Linked DNA regions of Homo sapiens: regions 1, 2, 3 and 4 are each linked to region 5. The links are contacts of gene promoters, found by promoter capture Hi-C in blood cells and fetal thymus (Javierre and others, 2016). All regions are on one chromosome and are shown on one strand. Each heading gives the region's core, a stretch centred on a gene start or on the middle of the fragment in contact. The rest is flanking DNA. Distances are from core to core; before and after follow the strand shown.

What was found. Contacts are between HindIII fragments. The CHiCAGO score rates a contact against its expected background, and 5 or more counts as called.
Region 1: the fragment with the promoter of DKC1 here is called in contact with the fragment with the promoter of RPL10 in region 5 in 5 of 17 cell types (fetal thymus, activated CD4 T cells, naive CD8 T cells and 2 more); the score reaches 11.0 in fetal thymus.
Region 2: the fragment with the promoter of NAA10 here is called in contact with the fragment with the promoter of RPL10 in region 5 in 11 of 17 cell types (naive CD8 T cells, non-activated CD4 T cells, neutrophils and 8 more); the score reaches 12.9 in naive CD8 T cells.
Region 3: the fragment with the promoter of AVPR2 here is called in contact with the fragment with the promoter of RPL10 in region 5 in 2 of 17 cell types (naive B cells and total B cells); the score reaches 7.5 in naive B cells.
Region 4: a contact is called between a fragment that was not itself captured here and the fragment with the promoter of RPL10 in region 5, in 10 of 17 cell types (naive B cells, activated CD4 T cells, naive CD8 T cells and 7 more). The highest score is 10.7, in naive B cells.

Annotation. Positions count from the first base shown.
Region 1 is chrX:154,761,424-154,764,123 of GRCh38, forward strand. DKC1 (dyskerin pseudouridine synthase 1) reads left to right here and starts at 1,441. Exons shown (of 15, transcript NM_001363.5): 1 at 1,441-1,558. The coding sequence starts at 1,543. RefSeq lists enhancers at 1,062-1,121, 1,872-1,971 and a silencer at 1,222-1,521. The HindIII fragment of the contact is 5,247 bases long and covers 1-2,700 here.
Region 2 is chrX:153,933,787-153,936,486 of GRCh38, forward strand. It overlaps NAA10 (N-alpha-acetyltransferase 10, NatA catalytic subunit), which reads right to left and starts at 1,251. Exons shown (of 8, transcript NM_003491.4): 1 at 1,098-1,251; 2 at 591-689; 3 at 157-215. The coding sequence starts at 1,118. It overlaps RENBP (renin binding protein), which reads right to left. Exons shown (of 11, transcript NM_002910.6): 10 at 1,703-1,790; 11 at 1,483-1,618. The coding sequence ends at 1,500. RefSeq lists a silencer at 941-1,520 and enhancers at 1,511-2,016, 2,017-2,521. The HindIII fragment of the contact is 15,713 bases long and covers 1-2,700 here.
Region 3 is chrX:153,903,163-153,905,922 of GRCh38, forward strand. AVPR2 (arginine vasopressin receptor 2) reads left to right here and starts at 1,511. Exons shown (of 4, transcript NM_000054.7): 1 at 1,511-1,609; 2 at 1,812-2,008; 3 at 2,370-2,760. The coding sequence starts at 1,984. The HindIII fragment of the contact is 5,945 bases long and covers 1-2,760 here.
Region 4 is chrX:154,138,392-154,141,091 of GRCh38, forward strand. No RefSeq gene overlaps it. Among named protein-coding and RNA genes, the nearest start is that of OPN1LW, 4.5 kb to the right of the region's middle. RefSeq lists cis regulatory regions at 313-2,700, 2,171-2,700. The HindIII fragment of the contact is 6,975 bases long and covers 1-2,700 here.
Region 5 is chrX:154,396,986-154,399,685 of GRCh38, forward strand. It overlaps RPL10 (ribosomal protein L10), which reads left to right and starts at 1,392. Exons shown (of 7, transcript NM_006013.5): 1 at 1,392-1,409; 2 at 1,512-1,557; 3 at 2,353-2,411; 4 at 2,502-2,609. The coding sequence starts at 1,535. LOC124905228 (a long non-coding RNA gene) reads right to left here and starts at 1,857. Exons shown (of 2, transcript XR_007068356.1): 1 at 600-1,857. RefSeq lists silencers at 435-614, 685-754 and enhancers at 757-1,302, 1,315-1,524, 1,847-2,392, 2,393-2,700. The HindIII fragment of the contact is 9,726 bases long and covers 332-2,700 here.

The sequences.
Region 1 (2,700 bases), core at 191-2,690, 360 kb after region 5:
ATATTTGCCACTTCCTATGCATCAGGTCCACTCAGCATGATGTCTTGGGGTACAGTGAGATGATCAAATCAGTTCCCAGGGACTCAATTATGATAATGTGCCAGAGGCTTCCTTTGTTCTTTCCTTCCATTATCACCCTCAGTCCTTGAGTCAGGAAGCCCCTCTGGGAATTTATCCAGCTACCAATTGTGTTTATTACAAGTATGGATTCAAGAACCGGGGAAAGAGCCACAGGGTGGCTGATAGTGAAAGGGACGTGGGCTGACTCCACTTCTGACCATTGGACCAAGTGGCATTCTACTTCCCCAGTGATTCACACGGGCTAGTGCAAGCCCCTGGTAAATGGCCACGGGTCCCACGAGAAGGGAGGAGGCAGGCTGAAAGTACACACTTGTAGCGTTACATGTGCCTGGCCTCACCTTTACAGGCTCACCTCACGGGCTCTGGCCTGTGGACTGACTAGATCTGGGAATTAGATGAGGCACCATGATTTTCCATTGTGGTGATTCAAGGCAGAATGCCTTTAGCCAGACCTAGAGTTACCGGGGTTATACAGATCATGATGGCTTACTACAGGACACTGTGATCAATTAGACACCACCAAAGATCCCTGGGGAGAAATCAGTTTGGTTCCAGCTTCCAGCCCTGCTGCCTATCATGATACCCAGGCTCATCCTGTTTCTATGAGATTTAGTGCCAGTGCTTTGTCTCTGCTGTTTGGCGTGAAGCCCGGTCGTAGAGTTCAAATTGAGGTGTGCTGTGAGCATAAACGCACACACCGGAAAGTCTTTGCGGGGACAAAAAAAAAAAACCAATGTAAAATACCCCATTCATACTGTTGTGTTTTGCCTATATGTGGAAATGATAATATTTCGGATACGCTGGGTTAAAAAAATTCATTATAAATCATTTTCACCTTTTTCTTTTTACTCTTCTTTCATGTTGCTGCTGGAAAATTTAAAAGTCAACATGTGGCACGCACACTACTCCTATTGGCCATCTGCTCTAGCTGGATGGGAACTGCAAGCAGCAAAGGCCTTTCAACCTCTCCGAGCTTCAACATGTTCACTTATGCATCAGGACTGATCCAACAGCAACCTGAAAGGGTCGGTGTGAGAAAGCAAAGAAAGAGGTACTGTTTACGGAGCGTTCAGCCGTGAGCCCAGGCGCAGGCGCGGAGCTAAACCCGGAGGTGAAGCAACTACAGCTGGGGCCACGCCCACAGACTCCGGGCTGTCGGGGCGGGCGGCACTCGCGCTTCCAGCCTGGGCCAACCAGGCTGCTTGAGGCTCGAAGCGCATGCGCGGTCTCGCCCTCCGTACTGGCCGAGCCAGCAAATCGCATTGCGCAGACGACCAGCGGGCGCCTCGGATTCCGCCCCCGGGATGGCCCCGCCTCCTCCCGCCCCGCGGCAAGGCACGCACAGGGCAGTGCGCGGGTGGGTGGGTCCTAGCAGCGCGGCCTGACGGGACCAAGGCGGCGGGAGTCTGCGGTCGTTCCCTCGGCTGTGGACCGGGCGGCACGCACGCGGTGCAGGGTAACATGGCGGATGCGGAAGGTAAGGGCTGCAGGCTTCCGGGCCGTGCTAACTCCGGGCGACTCGGGGAACGGGGGTGGGGGGATGGTATCGGGGCCCGCGCACGCCTCCCTCTGGTTCCCGCCGGCGTGTCGGCCTCTTCACCGCCCGGCCTTAAGCCGGCCTTGTCTCTCGGCCCTGGCTCCGTGGCAAGGGCGCGAGAGTGGGAGCCCCTCGCGGTGACTTGGCATGATGGGGCTCGGCCCTCTCACCTCCCTGGGGTCCGGGTCGCCGTCGAAAGACATCTGCCGTGCTGCCCACCCCGCGGTGGCGTGGGACGTGGCAGTGTCTGTGCTGCTGCCAGCCCGGACGCCGCCGTTACAGCTCCATGCGACTAGGGGAGCAAGGGTAGTGGAAACGGGCCGAGAAGAAAAGGAGCGGAGGGACCCCGGAGCAGGGATAGAGCTCCGAGTTGCAAGAAAGTTCTAGAGGCCACAAGCCCGCGGGGACAGTCGAGTGGTCGCTTATGGAACTTTCCGGCCCCCTGCGTGAGCGCTTCTGTGGGATGTTTAAGCTCTGCCATAGCCACGTGGTGAACCGGAAGGGAAGCCGACACGTGCAGTAGCCTACAGTCAGTTACCCAGCCATGGGACCCATACATTTGGCCTTACACACCTTGTTTTCTCGCTTACCTACGGATATACGTTCTAAGAAATGGGTCGTTAGGCGATTTCATCATTGTGTGAACATCAGAGGGCTCTTACACAAACCTAGGTGGCATAGGCTACTACACACCTAGGCTGTATATGGTGTAGCGTATGGCTCCTAGGCTTCAAACCTGGACAGCATGGTATTGTGCGGAATGCTGTAGGCAGTTGGGACACAGCGTCGAGAGTTTGTGTACTTAAACATGTCTAAGCAGAAAAAGGACAGTAAAAATATAGCACAGGGCCGGGCGCGGTGGCTCAGGCCTGTGATCCCAGCCCAGGCTGGCGGATCACCTGCGGTCAGGAGTTCAAGACCAGCCTGGCCAACATGGTGAAACCCCGTCTCTACTAAAAATACAAAAAATTTAGGTGGGCGTGGTGGTATACGCCTGTAATCCCAGCTACTCGGGAGGCTGAGGCAGGAGAATTGCTTGAACCTGGAGAAGGAGGTTGCAGTGAGCCGAGTTTCTGCCACTG
Region 2 (2,700 bases), core at 1-2,500, 460 kb before region 5:
GCTGAGGGGTGCTATAAGAACTCCATGTCCTTTCTGTTCAATTTTTCTATAAACTTTCAACTGTACTGAAAAGAAGAAGCCTATTCATTTTTTTTAAAGCCCACAGAGGCATCCACCAGACACGTGTAGCTTCTGTCTTCCTCCTTGGTGACTCACATTTTGGCCAGGACATACCCCACAATCTTCCCATTCTCGTCCTCAGCAATGTAAGAGAGCTGGTGACAGGAAAACAGAGTGAGAAAACTTCTTGTCGGAGCTAGAAGAGCCCTTTAGAGGGACACAAACTGGACGAGTGGCGAGTTGTGTGATGGCTCATGACCTCCGGGCTGAGTGGCTTGGTCTCCCCCTCGCCACACTGTGCCCTGCCCATACCCAGAAAGAAGACGCAAAGTGGGGATCCTGCCCCTATTCTCTGCTCCCTTCGGGCGCCTTCTTTTCCTTTGCCCCTGTCTGCCAGCTGAAAACACCCAGGACGCCACCGACCATACAGCCCCCTGGGCTCTGACAGACTTGTCCACTCCCTCCAAGATGGCCAGATGGGATTTTCCTCGGCCTGCTTTCCCCCATGCCCAAATTCAGAAGCTGCCCACCTGGGGCCAGGAAAGGCCATGGTAGAAGTAGTATTTCATCTGGTAGTTCTCGGGCAGGCAGAGGAGGTTGCAGTGCTGCATGTTCATTAGGTCCTCTGGCTGCAGGGAAGGAGGGCAGTGGAACGCGCTCAGTCTAAGGCGGCGGTGACCACGGGTGAGAAGCCTGCTCCCCGTCGGTCTGCTCGGCCCCGCTCCCTCGGGGCTGGGCAGGCACTGTGACGATCTGACTTTGCACAACGCCCGGAGCACAGGAACAGGAGTGGGCGCCCCGGAGGTCCCCGGAGCCCACCCAACGGAGGCCCGACATCACGCAAACAGGAGGGAATCGCAGCCCCGGCCCCGCGCCCCGGCCTCTTCGGCGGGCTGGGCCAGCCCCATAGGTCCAGCGGCCGCAGGCACACTCAGGGCCACCGGGCCGGGCTCGGCCGGGGCCCTCGGGAGCATGCGCGGCAGCCACCCGGCCCGGCGCCCACGCGGCGCGGACAGCCTCCCGCCCCGGGCGCTCACCCTCGCATTGCGGATGTTCATAACGGCGGCGGGGCTCGCGGGTCCCAGCGGATCGTGAAGGCGCAGTCAGCTGCCGCCGCGCTCCGAAGCGACGCCGGGACGGCCGGGGCTGGGACCGGAGCTGGGCTCGCTGGGCGACGGCGGAAGGGGCGGTGCGCGCCGGGCCGGCCACCGGCCGGAAGTGCACGGCCGCCGGGCCCGTCCTCCCGGCCGCTTGGCCAATGCGCGGGACAGGCCAGCGCACGGGGCGGGCCAATGCGCGGAGCCGGTCAGCGCGGGGCGGGCCTGGGGGCGGGGCGGGCGCTGCCCCGGAGCTGGAGCCGGCCCCTCCCTCGGCGCGACAGCCCCCCTCCCGCGAGCCCACAGACGCGCGCACAGCCGCAGGTGGAGCGGACTCAGCCTTTATTCCGCGCCTCGGCAGGCGGGGGTGGGGGCGGGGGAGGGGGCGGGGGCGGGGCGGCTCAGCAGGGCGCCCAGCATCTCCTCGCACATGGCTAGGCACCGCGGCACGTGGAAGCAGCCTGCGGGTAGAGGCGGGCAGGTAGTGAGGGCCGGGGGCAGCCGAGAGGCGCAACCCCTGCGGCCCCGCCCTCTCCCCCACTCACCTTTGAAAGGACCTCCCTTGATGGAGAGGGCCACCTTGCCCTCTCGGCTCAGGTAGCCAAACCATTCCCCGTACTCGGGATCGCGAAACTGGAATAACAGAGACAGTGACAGCTAGCGCCTGCAGGACCCGCCCAGATGCCACTGCATCGCTACCAGGGGTCAGAGCCTGGGTTGACCCCAGGTGACGTGGCTCCAGAACCAGCGATCTTAACCGCGACACTGCGTCCTCCACAAAGATGAAAGCAGGGGTGGGCGCAGCAGGCAGGCTACAACTATATAACCGACTGGGCAAGGGGATGAGACACTGCTAGATGGAATGAAAGAACTCTGCCCTGGGGTGTAGAAACGTTGTCTATCGGGCCGGGAGCTGTGGCTTGCGCCTGTAATCCCAGCACTTTCGGAGGCCGAGGCGGGCGGATCACCTGAGGTCAGGAGTTCAAGATCAGCCTGGACAACATGGTGAAACCTCATCTCTACTAAAAATACAAAATTAGCCGGACGTGGTGGCACGCACTTGTAATCCCAGCAGTATACTCGGGAGGCTGAGGCGGGAGAATAGCTTGAACACAGGAGGCGGAGGTTGCAGTGAGCTGAGATCACGCCATTGCGCTCCAGCCTGGGTGACAGAGCGAGACTCCATCTCAAACAAACAAACAAACGAACAAACAAACAAACAAAAAAGTTCTCTATTGTGATTGTAGTCGTGGTTACGTTGATTCAAAGAAACAAAGAACCCGGCCGGGTGCAAAGGCTCACACCTGTAATCCCAGCACTTTGGGAGGCCGAGGCGGGCGGATCACAAGGTCAGGAGATCGAGACCATCCTGGCTAACACAGTGAAATCCCGTCTCTACTAAAATACAAAAAATTAGCCGGGAGTGGTGGCGGGCACCTGTAGTCCCAGCTACTCGGGAGGCTGAGGCAGGAGAATGGCGTGAACCCGGGAGGCGGAGCTTGCAGTGAGCCAAGATCGCGCCACTGCACTCCAGCCTGGGCAA
Region 3 (2,760 bases), core at 261-2,760, 490 kb before region 5:
TCTCCTATTCCACTGATCTGGGTGGCATTAGGAAGGCCTTTTCTATGCTCCTAGATTAGTGACAGCATGCGGTTATTGGGGACAGCATGAGGATGTGCATGCGCTGAGGAGATGCAGCTGAAGCGTCAGGCCTGGGGTGCCAGCACTCTGCAGCCTGCCCCCAAGGGGCTCTGCAAAAACATGGCAAAGATGCGGGGTGTGATGTGCACCTGTGTGTGCTGCGGGTGTGTGCGTGTGTGGTGTTGGCTGTGCGTATGTGGTGTGTATGGCTGTGTGGTGGGTACATGTGTGGGTGTGTGGCGTATGGGAGTGTGTGATGTGTGCATGTGTGTGGTGTGTAATATATGTGTGCATGGTGTGGTGTGTGTGTGGTGTGGCGTATGGGTGTGTGGTGGGTGCATGTGTGTGTGGCGTGTGGCTGTGTGCATGTATGTATGTGGTGTGGTGTGTGCGCTGTCTCTGGAAAATGCCCACCCTGTGTTCCCACCACCCTAACAGGGCCGGGAGGGGCCAGGGTGCTGCCAGGCTCTCTGGGCAGGAAGAGGAGGCCTTGGCCGCGGGCCGGACTTGGGCCTGGTCCGTGAGGCTGTTTTGGTCTCTGGCTTCACAGGCAACAGAGAAGACAGACAAACAGGAAGAAAGCAGCTGCCTTGGGCTGGGCTGGGCTGGGCTGGCCTCGGCTGAGCCAAGCCAGGCCTGGGTGCGGGGGGAGTGGAAAGAGAACTACTGGGATGGGGGCTGGAGGGGGTGTGGGGACAGGGGAAGGAGAGAGGTGTTGGGGGAGGGAGGAGGAGGGCTCAGGTACAGGGAAGGTGCGTCCATACTCATGGTATGTTCAAGAACATGAGCGAGCGTCTCTGTGTTGTGTGTTTGTGGCTGTGTGGCTGTATCATGTGAGGTTGTGTGTGGTGGGAGGGAGCCCGTGAGCACACGGAGGTCCCCAGCCCCTCTTCCTAGGACAGGTAGTTGCAGGTGGGGCAGGAGGAAGAGGGTGGGGGTGTCCCTGGATCTCACAGGGGTTCGTGAAGCCTGGCTTGGCCCCTGCCCCACTCCTCCCTTTCCTGTCCCTCGTCTCCGGCCAACTGGGCCCTAACTGGGGAGGAGGAGGGGCCTGCGTGGGCCTGGGAGGGGCCCAGCGAAAGTGTTTTCACCCCTTCCTTGCCTGGGCCCAGCGAGGAGCAGGAGGACCCCAACTTGGGAAGGGGGCGTGAAGCTCCCATGAAAAAGCAGCGCAGTCCTGGGCCAGACCCACCGCTCTCTGGCCTCAGTTTCCCCACTTATAAAATGGGAATGCTGAACTAAGTGACCTCCCAGAGCACTGCCAACCCAGACAATCCAACCAGGGGGGCGTGGTAGGGTGAGGGTGGGCGTGGAGGCTATGGCAGTGGGAGGAGGGAGTCCTGGGCCGGGACCAGGGAGGCCCTGGGGAAAGGAAGGGAAACAGGAGGCCAGGGGAGGCCTGGGGGAAAGGGGGAGGGGGAGGAAGTCCCCTCCTGGCCAGGTCACTCCCAGAGGCTGGGCTGGGCCAGGGCAGGGCAGCCGATGGAGAGCAGATCTGAGCACCCAGCCACCTTCACGCCACCGCCCAGCTGCCCAGGAGCCCAGCCAGGTAAGGGGCTGCGCCTGCCTGCCCCCCTGCCCAGTCCCCAGCCCTCGGATGGTGGCCTCTCTCGGCCTCGGTTGGGGCAGGGGAGTTCTGCGTGTCTGTCTGGGGTGCCCACTCCCAAACCCGGGACTCATGGGCTGCCTGGGGGATCCTGGGTTCTGTGCATCCGTCTGTCTGACCATCCCTCTCAATCTTCCCTGCCCAGGACTGGCCATACTGCCACCGACACGTGCACACACGCCAACAGGCATCTGCCATGCTGGCATCTCTATAAGGGCTCCAGTCCAGAGACCCTGGGCCATTGAACTTGCTCCTCAGGCAGAGGCTGAGTCCGCACATCACCTCCAGGCCCTCAGAACACCTGCCCCAGCCCCACCATGCTCATGGCGTCCACCACTTCCGGTAAGGCTTGCCCCTCCATGAGTCCGGTGGGCAGAGTGGGTTTGACGATTCAGGGAAGCCCCTCTTTCTAAAGACCTCCTTCACCCTCACCTCTGGGTGTGTCTCTCCAGGCTGCCAATGAGTGGGGAGGGGAGCACAGCCCCACTTCCCCGCCAGGGCTGGGGCTGGGGCTGGGGCTGGGGCTGCCCTTCCTTCTGGACTGCATGAGCCTGGGGTGTGTATCCCTCATAACATGGCTTTCCTGGAGTCCCCTCTGCTAGGAGCCAGGAAGTGGGTGTCCGGATGGGGGCACGGGAGGCAGGCCTGAGTCCCCCTGCACAGCACCCTCTCTAACCAGGCCCTCTTCCCGACTCCTTCCCAGCTGTGCCTGGGCATCCCTCTCTGCCCAGCCTGCCCAGCAACAGCAGCCAGGAGAGGCCACTGGACACCCGGGACCCGCTGCTAGCCCGGGCGGAGCTGGCGCTGCTCTCCATAGTCTTTGTGGCTGTGGCCCTGAGCAATGGCCTGGTGCTGGCGGCCCTAGCTCGGCGGGGCCGGCGGGGCCACTGGGCACCCATACACGTCTTCATTGGCCACTTGTGCCTGGCCGACCTGGCCGTGGCTCTGTTCCAAGTGCTGCCCCAGCTGGCCTGGAAGGCCACCGACCGCTTCCGTGGGCCAGATGCCCTGTGTCGGGCCGTGAAGTATCTGCAGATGGTGGGCATGTATGCCTCCTCCTACATGATCCTGGCCATGACGCTGGACCGCCACCG
Region 4 (2,700 bases), core at 138-2,637, 260 kb before region 5:
CCCGGGAGGCAGAGGTTGTAGTGAGCAAAGATCGCGCCACTGCACTCCAGCCTGGGCAACAGAGTGAGACTCCACGTCAAAAAAAAAAAAAAAAAAAGACATGTCAGAAACAAAGAAAGAAAGACATGACAGGCTCAGAATCAATGTCAACCTGGGCAAAGGTCAGAAACGGAACAGGGACCCTTTCTTTGTGGGCAGGTTTGACATGAAAGGTTCAGCGACTTCAACTCTTCTGATTCTTTCTTCTTGAGCCCATTTTGGTAAGTTGTGTTTTCCTAAAAGTTTGTCCATTCCATCCAAATGTTCACATTAGTCAGGATCTGTGAAGGATGTCAATGGCTGTGAGGCGAGGGCCCCTTGCCAGTCCCCATGTTCGTTATTTATGGATGCCTGATGCCCACAACCTCGACTTCTCAGCTGAGGGCAACTCCTCCTGTCCTCTCGCTGCTTCCACCTAAGCCACCAGGAAATCCTGTTGACTCCACTTACAAAAGCTCTCCAGAGTCTGCTACCTCTTACCACCCTACTGTCGCCTCCCAGACCTGGTCTCCCCGCTTCTGCCCTGGCCCCTACAGCTCGCAGACAGCTGCCAGAGGAGTCCATCCGAATCAACTTCAGATTGCGTCACTTTTTCTTTCAAAATCCGACAAAGCTCCTCATTCCATTCAGAGTGAGAAGGGCCCCGCCATGCAGCCTTTCCTCCTCCTATTCACCAACCCCACTCTCGCTCCAGCCATCTTGATATCCTTGCTGGTCCTGGAGCAGGCCAGCCACGCTCTTGCCCCAGGGCCTTTGCACTTGCTGCCCCTCTCCTGTGATGCCCTCCTGGATCTCTGCATGGCTCCCTCCTGCCCTCCCTCCCTCGAGTCTTTGCTCACATGTCCCCTTCTCAGAGGGGCTCACCCTGGTGCCCTTCGAAAGTGGGCATCCACTCCCTTCCCACCCTGGCACCCGCACCCTCCTGTCTTCCTTTTTCTGTTCTCCATCCTACTCATCTCCCCCAACTAGAAAGGCAGCTGCAGCTGCGGAGCACGGGATCTCCATCTGCAGCTGCATCCCGGGACCTAGAACAGGTACAAAAGTACCTAATAAGTACCCACTGAATGAATAATTGGCTGAGTTTTCTGTACCAAAGACTGAGCTAAGACTCTTTAAAAGGATGATCTTATTTAAGCCTTACAGCAAGTAAATGTTATCCCCATCTTCCTGATGAGGACACAGTGACCACCACGCTCAAGGACACAGAGGGTGGACGTGCCACATTCACACTCTGTGACTTAGAGCGGCTGGACGGGCAGGGACTTAGGAGGCCTACAGCAGCCAGGGTGAGATTATGAGGCTGAGCTGAGAATATCAAGACTGTACCGAGTAGGGGGCCTTGGCAAGTGTGGAGAGCCCGGCAGCTGGGGCAGAGGGCGGAGTACGGTGTGCGTTTACGGACCTCTTCAAACGAGGTAGGAAGGTCAGAAGTCAAAAAGGGAACAAATGATGTTTAACCACACAAAAATGAAAATCCAATGGTTGGATATCCATTCCAAATACACAAAGGCAACGGATAAGTGATCCGGGCCAGGCACAGAAGGCCATGCACCCGTAGGATTGCACTCAGAGCTCCCAAATGCATAGGAATAGAAGGGTGGGTGCAGGAGGCTGAGGGGTGGGGAAAGGGCATGGGTGTTTCATGAGGACAGAGCTTCCGTTTCATGCAATGAAAAGAGTTTGGAGACGGATGGTGGTGACTGGACTATACACTTACACACGGTAGCGATGGTACACTTTGTATTATGTATATTTTACCACGATCTTTTTAAAGTGTCAAAGGCAAATGGCCAAATGGTTCCTTGTCCTATAGCTGTAGCAGCCATCGGCTGTTAGTGACAAAGCCCCTGAGTCAAGATGACAGCAGCCCCCATAACTCCTAATCGGCTCTCCCGCGTGGAGTCATTTAGGAGTAGTCGCATTAGAGACAAGTCCAACATCTAATCTTCCACCCTGGCCAGGGCCCCAGCTGGCAGCGAGGGTGGGAGACTCCGGGCAGAGCAGAGGGCGCTGACATTGGGGCCCGGCCTGGCTTGGGTCCCTCTGGCCTTTCCCCAGGGGCCCTCTTTCCTTGGGGCTTTCTTGGGCCGCCACTGCTCCCGCTCCTCTCCCCCCATCCCACCCCCTCACCCCCTCGTTCTTCATATCCTTCTCTAGTGCTCCCTCCACTTTCATCCACCCTTCTGCAAGAGTGTGGGACCACAAATGAGTTTTCACCTGGCCTGGGGACACACGTGCCCCCACAGGTGCTGAGTGACTTTCTAGGACAGTAATCTGCTTTAGGCTAAAATGGGACTTGATCTTCTGTTAGCCCTAATCATCAATTAGCAGAGCCGGTGAAGGTGCAGAACCTACCGCCTTTCCAGGCCTCCTCCCACCTCTGCCACCTCCACTCTCCTTCCTGGGATGTGGGGGCTGGCACACGTGTGGCCCAGGGCATTGGTGGGATTGCACTGAGCTGGGTCATTAGCGTAATCCTGGACAAGGGCAGACAGGGCGAGCGGAGGGCCAGCTCCGGGGCTCAGGCAAGGCTGGGGGCTTCCCCCAGACACCCCACTCCTCCTCTGCTGGACCCCCACTTCATAGGGCACTTCGTGTTCTCAAAGGGCTTCCAAATAGCATGGTGGCCTTGGATGCCCAGGGAAGCCTCAGAGTTGCTTA
Region 5 (2,700 bases), core at 142-2,641:
GGAATTACAGGCGTGAGCCACTGCGCCCAGCCAATTTTTAGTTTTTAATTTTTGTAGAGGCGGTTTTTCGCCATGTTGTCCAGGTCTCAAATTCCTGGGCTCAAGTGATCCGCCCACCTCCGCCCCTCAAAGTGCTGAGATCACAGGCGTGAGCCACGGCACTCCGCCGCAATTCCTGACTTGTACTGCCCCAGTGGTGTTACAGCCTCGAACCCAGTTTCCAGACCTAAGTCACCGCCGGCATCCAGAGTCCCATGATGGAAAGGGAGGCTAGGTTCCCCTGGGAAGGACCTTGCACCACTGCTGCAAGTGCACCCCAGAAATCGTCCCAAGCTTTTCTCAAAGGGACCTGCAGCCATTTATAAAAGCGACATATCATCCTGGAAAACAGGTGCGCTCGAGCAGGATTTCCTCCCGTCCTTCCTGTCAAAGGACGGGAAGACTTTGTTACCCCACCGCGCCCCACCTGCAGAATGGTGGACAGATACCTCCAGATGCCACTTCCCCCAGGACGCCCGCCTGCTCTGCGCACCTCTCCCCGGATGCTGCCCCGTGGGCGGGTGGGGGCGGCCCTGCTTCCCCACGACCCCCAGACGCACCCGGAGGGACTCTTGAGCACAGTGGAGTGGGAAGGGCGAGGTGGGGCGGTGCCCAGGCGAGAGCGGCTCATGGGAGGCGGCGCCCGAGACGCAGCTGGTCGGGACGGTGCGGGTCAGGGTGGGCGGAGCGGGGCTAGAGATGCCCCGGGGTTTCCCAGGCCATGAGTCTCCGTGGAGATTTCTCCTCGACCTCTTCCCCGCGGCAATGTGCGAACCCTGGGTCTCCAGGAAACGGGGATACGGGGCATGGCTCCCAGCAAGGCCTGGTCCAGCCTCTCCGGTAGGGGAATGGGTCTCCCCCTCCGGCCTCCCGGGTTGACAAAGGAACGCGGGCCCAGATCCCCGTATGGCGCTTCACCGCCGGGGCCTCTAGCCTAGAAGGAGGCACGGAGCGCGTGTCCGAGACCCGTGCAAGCTCAGGGACACTCTCGCGGTCGCCGGGAGGCCCACCTAGGGTACTTTCCTTTTTTCCACTCTCAGAAATATACGTCTGTCACAGTTAACGGCAAAGCCTAGGGCAAGAGTTCTACGCCCAAGATGGCCAGCCGGAAGCGGGCTTCTCGCGACCATGTGGCGAAGCCCCATTCGTCAGCTGGCCGCCCGCGGCCCTGGTACCCGGTCACCTCTCTGATCTGCGCATGTGCTGGGCTACGCCCGGGCGCAAGCGCCAAGAGCGGCTGCGTCTATGGTCATGACGTCTGACAGAGCGTCCACCCGTCTTCGACAGGACTCTATGGTTCTTACGCGCGCAGACAGACCGCCTATATAAGCCATGCGCAGGCGGAGGAGCGCCTCTTTCCCTTCGGTGTGGTGAGTAAGCGCAGTTGTCGTCTCTTGCGGTGCCGTTGCTGGTTCTCACACCTTTTAGGTCTGTTCTCGTCTTCCGTTCCGACTCTCTCTTTTTCGTTGCAGCCACTGAAGATCCTGGTGTCGCCATGGGCCGCCGCCCCGCCCGTTGGTGAGTCTTGAATCCGTGTACTTTCACTGCTGGGAAACGGGCGGGGAAAGAAGTGCCTATGGCCGCTGAAAACAATTGTGGGGTGGAGCCTCCCCCGTGCGGCGGCCCTGTCTTGGGAACTGACCCTATGTTTTACACCTCCCGGCTATTTTTTAGTCTGCAATATTACTGTCTGTTCCTTCGTTCCCGTGTCGGTGTGGAAGCGACGGTTCCCTCGTATCTCTGCCTGTGTCCTGCAAGCTCACCGCATTTTCGGGCGCTAGATACGCTCTTGGGGCCTTTGTGTGCGTTCTCTGTCTTATTTCCGGGCGACGTGCCGCGTGCGTTGTCGGACGTGAAGGGCAGTCCGGGAAAAACGGGTGCGGCCGCCTCCTGTGTCCTACAGGGGGCGCCAGACGCATTTCCACTCGGCTTGGAGGTGGATTTAGTGCCACGTGCCCGAAAGTCTTAAATTGGGTGACCTGAGCTGTGCAATGATAATGCGGCGATTTTGTAGTACGCAGTGTCTTGAAGAGAGAATTTTTAACTAGGAAAGTTTGTTGCAAAGTGTTTATAGGAAGCGTAAGACAAAGTAACGGAAGATGGTGTCTGTTGTTTCTAGTCTTGGGTGTTGTCTGTGTTGCAGCAGCCAACTGTTGCTTTGTAGTTTATTTCCCCGAATGGAAACGGTTTAGAAGTGGACGTGCATTCCCCACCCTTTTCCCGTCCCTCGTTTGGGTTGTTCCTTGAGGGGCAAAGTGCCTGTTGGGCTTTCTGTGAACCTCACCTAACCTGTGTTTTTTCACTCCCCTGCAGTTACCGGTATTGTAAGAACAAGCCGTACCCAAAGTCTCGCTTCTGCCGAGGTGTCCCTGGTAAGTAGTGGAAGAGCCCCTGCACTGGTTGGCTCTGCGGACTCCGCGTCCGTCTGTGACACCCCCTGCACACTTACCCAATCCTTTTAGATGCCAAGATTCGCATTTTTGACCTGGGGCGGAAAAAGGCAAAAGTGGATGAGTTTCCGCTTTGTGGCCACATGGTGTCAGATGAATATGAGCAGCTGTCCTCTGAAGGTAAGGCAGGATTCTTTGTTCGTCACCCCCCAGTCCTTCCTCCGTGCTCCCTCAACCCCACCCACATACACTGCACTGGAATTGGGAGTTG